3 separate regions of the Homo sapiens genome follow, and all the other regions are linked to region 3. The links are contacts of gene promoters, found by promoter capture Hi-C in blood cells and fetal thymus (Javierre and others, 2016). All regions are on one chromosome and are shown on one strand. The core of a region is centred on a gene start or on the middle of the fragment in contact, and the rest is flanking DNA. Distances in the headings are between cores, read along the strand shown. Region 1 overlaps PIK3R5 (phosphoinositide-3-kinase regulatory subunit 5). Region 2 holds the start of PIK3R5 (phosphoinositide-3-kinase regulatory subunit 5). Region 3 holds the start of RNF222 (ring finger protein 222).

Region 1 (3,791 bases), core at 654-3,153, 520 kb after region 3:
TTAAAGTTAATTAGCAAGAATCAGAAATTCCTATATAATTTTTACAATTACTTCTGTAATTTTAGCCCTTCTTTTAACGTAACTTGTTTTCTTTTAAAATACAGGTCCATATGTATATTAAGTATTTTTTTTTCTTTTTTCTTTTTCTTTTTTTTTTTTTTGAGATGGAGTTTCGCTCTAGTTGCCCAGGCTGGAGTGCAATGGCGCAATCTTGGCTCACTGCAACCTCTGCCTCCCAGGTTCAAGCTATCCTCCTGCCTCAGCCTCCTGAGTAGCTGGGATTACAGGCATGCATCACCACGGCTGGCTAATTTTTGTACTTTTAGTAGAGACGGGTTTCACCATGTTGGTCAGGTTGGTCTCAAACTCCTGACCTCAGGTGATCCACCCGCCTCAGCCTCCCAAAGTGCTGGGATTACAGGCATGAGCCACTGCACCCGGCCTGTATTAAATATTTTATACTACTTCATAGTTCTTTCAATGTTTTTGACATTTACATTAAATGTAATAACTGTGATAACAGCAGTATTTTTGGACAGTGGCTTTAAGTTTCATTTATTTTATTACTCACTGTTTTGTTTTGTACCCTACCATTCCTACTTATAAGTCCTTTATTTTGGTTCATGTCTTGCTCACTCAAGTATTTCGAGTAGTTTCAGGACAGATATGTGGGTGAGGTACTTTCTGAGACTTTACATGTCATATGTCATTCATTCTGGCTCATGAATTATAGCTTTGCCAATTATAGAATTGGCATAATTCATAATTTTTCACCCTCGAAATGTTCATAGAAACCCAAGAAAATCAACTGAAAAATGGTCATACCAAAGAACAGAGTTAGGTAAAGTGGTTAGGCACAAATTAATATAGAAATCAATATTATCTAACTATGCAAATAAATTATGTTGGGGAAACAAGATTCCACTTCTAACAGCAACAAAAGTAATACAAATTTTTTTAAAAACTTTAAAAATATGCAATATTTTTATAAAGAAAATGTTTGAGGGACACGAAAAAGCAAAAGTAAATGGAAATACATATTCTGGTGTTAGGAAGATTCAATACCATAAAAAATTAATTCAAAAAGGATCAAAGATCTAAATGTAAAGTGCTAAAACTATAAAACTCTTAGAAGAAAAATTGGGGGAAGCTTCATCACATTGGATTTGTCAAAGATTTCTTGGATATAACACAAAAAGCACAGGCAACAAAAGAAAAAATAGTTAAATATCAAAATTTAAAACTCTGTGCATTAAAGGATACAATCAACAGAGTGAAAAGGCAAGCCATGTTATGGAAGAAAATATTTGCAAATCGTATATCTGATTAAGGGCTACCATCTTGAATATATAAAGAACTCCTGTATAACTCAACAACAAAAACAAACCACCCGATTTGTTCATTCTCCATGAGTTTCAGCCTGGAGAATAGGAAAGAAGGAGGGAAGGAGGGAAGGTGGGAGGGTGGGAGAGAAGGAGGGAGGGAGGGAGGAAGAAAAGGAGGAAGGTAATTATTGAGTGGCTGATCTGTGTCAGGTACTATGTTGGGCGCTTTCACTTAGTTTGATAATCATAATTGATTATCAAATTGATTATCAAATTATCAATCCCCATTGTCTTGGGAATTAACATTCAGTTAATCCCCAAGACATTGATTACTTAGTTTGATAATCATAATCACCCTGTGACATTATCATAATTATTCACATTTCCTGCAGCTCAGGGAGGGTAAGCCATTTATTCACTCAAGTTCCTATGGTCACAATTCCTATGGCCCGAGCTTGAAGTCTGTGCAAAGTTGGCGTGACTCTCAAAGCCCATGTTCTTTCCTATGTCGTGTTCATAGGAAGTCATTTCTACTGGTTTCTAGACACTTAAAGGGCTGAGTGTACTGTTTCGTCTCAGTGTTGTAATTTGAGGCTTCCAGGGAAGACGTCTTGCATAAAAATTGGCTGAGTTTCCATTGTTGGTGATTCATTCTCCTTGGGTTAGGGCTGTTCACTTCCTCTGTCCTAGCTTATTTTTCAAGATGTAAGATTCTTGGAGGATGATTTAGCCACCAGATGAGTCTGTTACAGCAGTGACGGTAGCTAGTGGGCAGGAGAAGGACTCTGGGGCCAGGAGAGGGAGGAAATGTGAAAAGGTAGGTGGACATGGTGTGGAGGTCCAGGGAAGGCAGAAGATGAAGTAGAGATGTACCAAAAGAAAGAAACACTGAAGAAGCAGAGGCAAGACTGCCCACTTCCCCCCATCTTTGCTCAAGCCCTTCTTTACCAAGGAAGGGGCACAGGAATGCCTGGGAAGACCACAGTTGTGGTCAAGACCAAGAAGAAATGGGATGAGGATGAAGGAGGGGAAGGAGAAAGATGCTAACGTGTACACAGCACTGACCCTGGGCCAGATACCATGCTTAGGGCTTGAAGCACATGATCTCATTTATTTTGAGCCACTCTAGGACACTCTGAACTTGCAGAGATGAGGAAGTTCAGCTCCTGTTGGCTAAAAGACTTTCCCAAGGACATACGGATAGCACAGAGAGGATTCGAACTAAGGTCTCTCTGGTCCACTCTACCCAGGTACAGTACCGAAAAGACAACAGGATGTACAATGTCACCTTTTCATATAATAATTTTAATAATAGCAGCTAATAGGAATTGAAAGCTTACTATGTGGCAGGCACCGTTCTAGGTGTTTCTATGAATTAAGTCATTAAATCCATGTGAGGTAGACACTCCTTACCCCCATTTTACAGATGAGGAGACTGCGGTACAGAGTATTCTCTCAGCTGGTAAATGAAGTATGCTGTAGGCAATTTAGCTTCCCCATGCAAGTAAGAGCAGCTATACTGGAGCCAGGGGTGGGCAAACTGAAATTACTGCCAAGCTGGGAAACCAGAGGAAGACTATAACAATAAAACAAGCAATAAGCTCCAGGCAGCAACCGAATTCTTTGGGCACCTGGGCTAAACCTTGGGCACTTACACGGGAGACTGTTTAATCCTACCACCTTTAAATATGGAGCCCATCTTAATGGTTAGACAATGTGCACAGGAGAATAAAGCAGCAAATGAATGTAAATGTAAAAACTCAAGAAAGGCCAATTACACATATATTGGCAGCTTTCTGGTTTTTCTGGATGTGGAAAAAGATTGCAGTTGTGACATTGCACCCTTCCCTTCCCTTCCCCTCCCCTCCCCTCCCCTCCCCTCCCCTTCCCTTCCCTTTTCAAGACAGGGTCTTGCTCTGCCTCCCAGGCCAGAGCGCAGTGGTGTGATCATACCTCACTGCAGCCTTCTGGGTGTGGAAAAAGATTGCAGTTGTGACATTGCAGCCTTCCCTTCCCTTCCCTCCCCTCCCCTCCCCCCCTCCCCTCCCTTCCCCTTCCCTTCCCTTTCCTTTTCAAGACAGGGTCTTGCTCTGCCTCCCAGGCTGGAGTGCAGTGGTGTGATCATACCTCACTGCAGCCTTGACCTCCTGGGCTCAAGCGATCCTCCTGCCTCAGCCTCTCAAGTAGCTGGAACTACAGGCACATGTCACAATGCCTGGCTAATTTTTTTTTTTTTTTGTAGAGGTGGGGTTTCACCATGTTGCCAGGCTGATCTTGAACTCCTGAGCTCAAGCAATCTGCTGGCTTCAGCCTCCCAAAGTGCTGGGATTACAGGCGTGAGCCACCTGCAGCCTGACACAGGCTGCTCACTTTCTACAGGTAGAATCATTTCTAGTTTGTAAGACAGATATGAATATTTCATAGTTTTGGGCAAGGAAGATTTTTCTCCTTCCAGAGCACTGTGAC
Region 2 (3,562 bases), core at 195-2,694, 570 kb after region 3:
TGACCTGTAATCCCAGCTACTTGGGAGGCGGAGGCGGAGGATTGCTTGAGCCTGGGAATTTAAGGCTGCAGTGAGCCATGATCACGCCACTGCACTCCAGCCTGAGTGACAGAGCAAGACCCTGTCTCAATAATAATAATAATAATAATTCCACACAGCTCTATGGGTCAGTATGACAGCCCATTTTATGAATCAGGAGACTGAGGCTGGGTTGGGGGACAGTGTGATGCTGCAGGTCACACAGCTGGATCCGGTTGGAACTTGGGTCTCTTTTCCACATCATGCATGGTTCCCAAGCAACGGCTTCAGCATCATCACTTAAGGAGCTCATTCAAAGTTTTGAAAACTACAGATTCCAGATCCCATCCCTGGAAAGCCACGTTGTAGGGTTGGCTCCAAGAGAGCCCTACCTGCAGTCAGCTCTGGGAGCCAGTGCCTTACAGGTGGTCCTGAGGGCAGGAAGGAAAGTGTGGGGTGGATGAGAAGACACAGAAGGAAAACGAGGGTGTCAGTCCAGAGAGGACCTTGGAGGCAGGCTTGGCCTACTTTTAGCCCTTATTCTGCCTAAACCCACCCCTCCTCTCTACTCCGAGTCTTGTTAACTCGCTTTATACCACATCCTGCTGCTTTAACCTCGCCTTCCTTTTCCTTCTGAACAATCTCCTTCCTCCTACTGACCTGAACTTTTTGTGTATTTACCCCAGGCCGGGATGGGCCAGCACGCGCACATGCGCATGCCCACACACACACACACACACACACACACACGAGTCACGCGGGGATGTCCAGTGTGTAAACACAGATCCTCTGAGAGCAGAAAGCGTGCAGTTCTCTAGGACAGCAGCCGCGTCTGGGCCCAAGGCTGGCTAACTAGCAGGCTGAGTGAGGCTCGACGGAGGGCGCCTTACGCGGGCACTTCCATGACTCCCAGGTTCTGACGGCACAAGAGCCCTGATGCCCACGCTCACGGACAGTTCCCCGCTGGAGCGGGCAGGGGACCTGACCCTACGACACAGGGCGTCCTGTGTCAGAGGCAGGAGGCTGAGGACACAGCTGCGCAGAGCCGCCCAGCAGAGGTTACCCGGATAACGATAAGTGGTCCCCGCGACGCCCCTTAAGTCTCTGGGGTTATCTGGAGCGCAGGTTTGCAGACCCGCTGCCCCCGCGGTGGGCCAGGTCCACGGGGCCGGAAGATAGCAGGATCTGTCCAGCCCTCGGGCTGCGGCGGCTGCTCGCGGAGCCCACTCTCCCCGACGGTCCCCAGCTTGCTCCAGCTCTGCCTGGAGCTCCCATGCGTGCCCTCCGCATCCGCCCTGGCCGCCCAGTCACACACCTGCAGTCCCCGCCGGGCGCCGAGCCCCTCTCCAGCGGCGACTCCCTGCGATTCGGGTGACCGTCGGGACCACCGCGCCCCAGCTGGAGCCGCGCGGCGAGCCGCAGCATCTGCCCAGCCTGGGCTCCTCCGGCGGGCGGGGCGGAGCCTGTCAGGGGGCGGGGCCTAATGGGGCGGGGCTGACCGCGGAGCCGGCCTCTCCAGCCACCTGGCGGCCCGGCAGCGTCAGCCAGGTGCGCGCCCGGCCCCACATCCTCTGGGTCACGCCCCCGAGGCCGCAAGGCGTCTGAGAAGCAGCCCCGGCTCTGACCCGCCAGCCCTCGGAAGAAGCAGACCCTGGCCGGTCCATGGCAGTGGCCCGAGGGGCACCAGCGCGGAGCACCAGCGACCCCCAAGGAGTAAGGGGAGGTTAGGCCCCCGCGTCGGAAGCGCGGCTTTGGCCCCGCAGGAGGGCTGGGCGGAGCAGGGGGGCAGGTCTGGGGTAGGGGCTTAGGGGAAAGACGAGAAAGAGGAAGCTCCGACGAGCTGCTTCCTTCTCTCACTGCGACCCACTTCCTCTTCCTACTTCTATTTTCTTTCTTTTTTTTTTTTTTTTTTTTGAGATGGAGTCTCGCTCTGTCGCCAGGCTGGAGTGCAGTGGCACGATCTTGACTCCCCACAACCTCCGCCTCCCGGGTTCAAGCGATTCTCCTGCCTCAGCCTCCCGGGTAGCTGGGACTACAGGCGCGCGCCACCACGCCCAATTTTTTGTATTTTTACTAGAGACGGGGTTTCACCATGTTGGCCAGGATGGTCTCGATCTCTTGACCTCGTGATCCGCCCGCCTCGGCTTCCCAAAGTGCTGGGATTACAGGCGTGAGCCACTGCGCCCGGCCCCTACTTCTATTTTCTTTGGGTGCCCTTAACCCTTAAAATGCCTGCACTACTGCTGTGCAGACGGGCACCTTGACCCGCATCCTTCTGCAGGAACCTTCATAGAAATACCAGCCAGTCCCGGCGTTCAGCACTGCTGTTCCAGCCTCTGGCTGGACTTCCCGCCCTCCCTGGCCGGCACCAAGGCTACTGTCACCTGAGTGGTTTCCCCAGCCCCTGGGGAAGGGAGTGAGGGTGTGCGGGAGTTCCTGCCTCCAGGGTCAAGGCCCTCTTCTTGCCTCCCCCTTTTCTCCCCCAGACGACGTTGCAGATGATGCTCTACCAAGAGTTGGAAGGACTCCCCAGGGAATCCCACAAGACACTGCGCTTCCTATGCCTCCTTTCCCTCGTTTAAAAAATGGGGATAAGAAGGTTGGCTACTGCTCCGACAGCCCTCACAATGGAAGAGTAGCACTTCATTTGTGGGTTAACAAAGGGCAACGCTGAAATCTCCACTTCCACTATTGAATGGAACTGTGTCATAATATCTGTTAGAGGCGTGCAAACTCGGCCACAAGGTCATGGTCATACGTTATTGTTGGTCAAAAGCCGCAGCCCTACCTGAGGCTTTGAGAGATATGAACACCAATGACTTTTCTTTTCCTGACTCCCGAAATACCAAGAAAAAGCAACTTCCCCAAATGGACAGAAACAGAAAGTACCCTTGGTTGAACACAGAGGCCTGGTTCCAGCCATCGTTAGACGTGGGAAGGAACTCAGACCCCCTCTCCTACCTCATCCCCAACCCCTTCCCCACACGTCACCCTTTCACAGAGAAGGAACCAGAGCCACCAAGGGCTGAGAGAGGACTTGATAAGGATTCCAGTCTTCTGTCTCCCCTGTCCCCACTTTTTCCACCACAAAAATATGGACATTTGGAAGAAGAGGAGAAGAGGGAAGGTACACACTGTGCAAAGGAAGAAAATGGCAGAAATGCTCTGGAATCAGGAATTCAGGAGCAAGAATGACACTGTGTGCCAGATGGAAATGTTGGATTAGGAGAGCACTTGGAAAGGCAAATAATCTGCCAGAGAAATTATGGGATGCCTGCCTTCTGAAAATGGAGGAAAACTGCAAAAGAGTGGCTCATTGGTGCTCACTCCTAGGGCTCTGAGCATCCCAAGAAGCCAACTTGGTCCCATCGTACATCCCCTCAGAAGTAGGCATTCTCCTCTCCACCTACAGCTGTGGCCCAGATGTGGAGCCTGCATGTTATGCCACGCCGTCAACACTGAGTTCTGTCTGCGTCTCCCTGTCACAGATCTGATCAGCACCTGACACCTATCCATTCTCCATTTCCCACCTCCCCAAAGCTGC
Region 3 (3,315 bases), core at 720-3,219:
CCTGCATTTCATAACTCCCCAGAGTGTATGATGGCAAGAGTTCCATCCTTCTATCCATCCATCCATCTGTCTAATTATTCGACACATATTTATTGAGCACCTGCTATGTGCTAGGTACTGACTTACATATTGGGGATAAGTAGTGGCCAAGGAAGTTCTTATAAAACTTTAGAGCCTAGTGGACATTTATAAGTTTTCTTGAAAAAGATATTTTTTTGAAAGGAGTATTGATGATCAATGGTTTAAGTTGTTTGGATAACTGAGAAGTAGAGACCAAGGCTGACAAGAAGAGCAAATAAGGAATACTAGAGGGAAAAAGGACTTTAGAGATCACTTAGTTGAAGCTCCTAGTTTCAGAGATGAGCAGATCCATGTCTAGAGAGAGGGAAGTGAGTCACCTGAGGTGACCGGTGAAGGTGACGGAGAGGGAGTTAACCGAGACAGAGAAGATTCCGTAGATGGTAGAACATTGTTAGAATCAGCTGATAGATTGGGTGAGTAGGTATTAGCCAAGTTAGAAAGCACCGTCCTCCTTGAGACGAGCAGGGAAGGAGAAGGAGAGCCTCTACTTTTCATCCGAGTTAGAGGAAAAGTAAAAAGGACCCAGGGAGTGCAGAAGACATCCGAGGCCCCAATGATGGCCTCTCTGGGCAATCCTTCTCCCTTCCAACAATGGCCTCTCTGGGCAATCCTTCCCTCTTACAACGATGGCCTCTCCGGACAATCCTTCCCCCTTCCAATGATGGCCTCTCTGGACAGTCCTTCCCGCTTCCAACGATGGCCTCTCTGGGCAATCCTTCCCCCGTCCCGTGCTTCCGGAGAGCCACGCCGTCAACACCTGGACGATGCTACCTCCTTCCCCACCTTCTTGCCTCCCTTTCTCAGTCTTTCCCTGACCCCTCCCTCTGCCTCTCTCGCTTTCTGAATCCCATTCCATTCCCCATCCTTGAGTTCCTCTTATGGTATGATTCTGTTTGGATGCTGGGGTGAGGGAGAGGGCAACAGAAGAAATGCAAGGAACATACTCTAGTTTGAGCACAAACGAGTTGAAGAAGAATGCAGTAAGTGCCAAAGCATCCCTGTTGGTGCCTTAGGAAACTGAGGGGAGAGGAGGGCTGGAAAGTATTCCTAGGTGAAGTGGGACCAGTATTGAGCTAATAATAAATAATTATTATTATTTACAACAGCGACCATTTATTGAATCCTAATTATATGCTTGGCATTTTGCATCCCTTCCTCTTCTGATCCTGACAACAAGGCTGGGGCGTAGGGATTATCTTCATTTTACAGATAAGGGACCTGAGGCTCAGAGCTTAAGACTTTGTCTTCAGACTTTGGTCAAAGGAATAGAAGAAATAGCACTGTTAGAAAAGTGACTACCCAAAGTTCCTTCCTCTTTAGGTTTAGAGTGACCCTAAACAAGGATGCCCCTCTGGCCACCTGGGAGGCAGGGGGAAGGCAATGGCTGGCCCAAGGGAGCTGACCTTGGGAAGCCCCAGTACTGAGCCTCCCCCACAGCAGTAGCCCATCTCCGGAACAGAGTGTGGGGGCAGGTGTCCCCACCCCAGAGAAAACACCCCCCATCCCCACCTCAGCACAGGAGCCAGTGGGACAGAATGATACTTCCAGGCACCTGGGATTCCCTCCTGGAGCCCCAGTGCAAGGTCCTATAGCTTTAGCTGTGACTAGTTGCTCACCCACAGGTATCTCTTTCTCTCTCTCTCTCAATTTCTCTCTCTCTCATTCTCCTGCATCCTTCCAATGTTGGCAACCTTCCAACATTGCCAAGCTCCTTCCCCACGCCCATCCAGGCCCCTAGACTCACTTTAGCTGGGACCGGAGAGAGCAGCATCCACCTTCCCTCCTGGGGCCTCCAGCAGATCTGAGCCACCCCGAGGTGCTGAGCAGCAGCACGATCTCCTCCTGTTGCTGTTAGTGTGACCGCCACCGCCGAGGCAATTCCTAATGACAGAGCAGGTCGGGAGGACAGCGCGAGGAAGTGAATGTCGCCCAACCCGTTTGAGGCCAGGAGGCTTTGGCGTTGCCCAGGGGGTTGGCAGCTGCTGGAGTCAGGTGATCTTGCTGAGGATGCCAGGAGAGGAACCCCCAGCTTGAGGAGGAGCCCAGGGGTGGGTGCTCAGGAGAGTCAGAGGGTCTCACAGTGGAGGCAGTGACCCAGGACCCCTTTGACTGAGGCTCCCCAGGCATGGGTCTCCCTATCAATAGGAAAGTCACCCACACTGTCCTTCCCACCCTCCTGGACCCATTTCTGTGATCCCCATCTTCCCCCCACACCCCTATCCTCACACCATGCACAGGGTGAAGGGGTCAGTAGTAGATCAGCCTCGGGAAGTCTATGACACTCAGAGTCATATATTTGTGGGATCTGCCTGTGTGCATTTGTCATTCATGGAACACCCAAAGGCGCTTAGAACTCCAAAGACCCAGCACCACTGGCATAAAGAACGAGGCGAGTAAGACCAGTGAAGCAGGAATGCACACAGATATGGAAAGAAGTCCCCGGCATCATGATAAATGGAAGCAACTTTCAGAACAGCCTGTGTAATACAATTCTATTTATGAAGATAATAATACATGATCATATTCATAGAGGAAAAGCTGGAAGAAAACACATCAGACTGTTAATAGCAGTTATCTCTGGAGAGACTTTCTAAGTTTTATATTTCTGTGATGTTTGCATTTTCACCCTGAATGTATGTTTCTTTTGTGATTAGAGAAAAAGTCATCCACTGGGTATGGTGGCTCATGCCTGTAATCTCAGCACTTTGGGAGGTTGAGGCGGGCAGACTGCTTGAGGCCAGGAGTTCGAGACCAGCCTTGCCAACATGGTGAAACCCTGTTGCTACTAAAAATACAAAAATTAGCTGGGCAAGGTGGTGCAAGCCTGTAGTCTCAGCTACTCGGGAGGCTGAGGCACAAGAATTGCTTGAATCCAGAAGGTGGAGGTTGCAGTGAGTGAGCCAAGATTGCACCACTGCACTCCAGCCTGGATGACAGAGTGAGACTGTCTCAAAGAAAAAGAAAAAGTCATCAAGAATAATGGAGGAATGAAGTTCGGGGAACTGGAAATCATTTTGGAGGATTCCCTCCCAGTCCTCTCAGGAGGTCCCCAAGAAACCAGTTTTCTTCTGAAAAAGTAAGTTACTGGGTCCAAGGCACAGCCCAGCATGTGTGTGACCCCATAGGATGACACAGGATGACCCCTCTTCTGTCCGATCAGTCATGGCCCTGGCTTAATGGACACCTTGAAGCTGGTGGGGAGGACAGTCAGGCCAGTGCACTCGGCCACTTCAC

The links. The method cuts DNA at HindIII sites, captures the fragments that hold promoters and counts their contacts. A CHiCAGO score of 5 or more calls a contact.
Region 1: a contact is called between a fragment that was not itself captured here and the fragment with the promoter of RNF222 in region 3, in 1 of 17 cell types (neutrophils). The highest score is 5.0, in neutrophils.
Region 2: a contact is called between the fragment with the promoter of PIK3R5 here and the fragment with the promoter of RNF222 in region 3, in 12 of 17 cell types (total CD4 T cells, naive CD4 T cells, naive B cells and 9 more). The highest score is 16.2, in total CD4 T cells.

Annotation. Positions count from the first base shown.
Region 1 is chr17:8,920,698-8,924,488 of GRCh38, forward strand. The region is part of intron 1 of PIK3R5 (phosphoinositide-3-kinase regulatory subunit 5); the gene reads right to left. Among named protein-coding and RNA genes, the nearest start is that of PIK3R5, 43 kb to the right of the region's middle. The HindIII fragment of the contact is 1,510 bases long and covers 1,149-2,658 here.
Region 2 is chr17:8,964,263-8,967,824 of GRCh38, forward strand. It overlaps PIK3R5 (phosphoinositide-3-kinase regulatory subunit 5), which reads right to left and starts at 1,445. Exons shown (of 19, transcript NM_001142633.3): 1 at 1,334-1,445. PIK3R5-DT (PIK3R5 divergent transcript) reads left to right here and starts at 1,585. Exons shown (of 3, transcript NR_184080.1): 1 at 1,585-1,741; 2 at 2,505-3,562. RefSeq lists silencers at 1,369-1,688, 1,759-1,858. The HindIII fragment of the contact is 6,543 bases long and covers 1-3,562 here.
Region 3 is chr17:8,395,858-8,399,172 of GRCh38, forward strand. It overlaps RNF222 (ring finger protein 222), which reads right to left and starts at 1,970. Exons shown (of 3, transcript NM_001146684.3): 1 at 1,838-1,970. The HindIII fragment of the contact is 4,699 bases long and covers 1-3,315 here.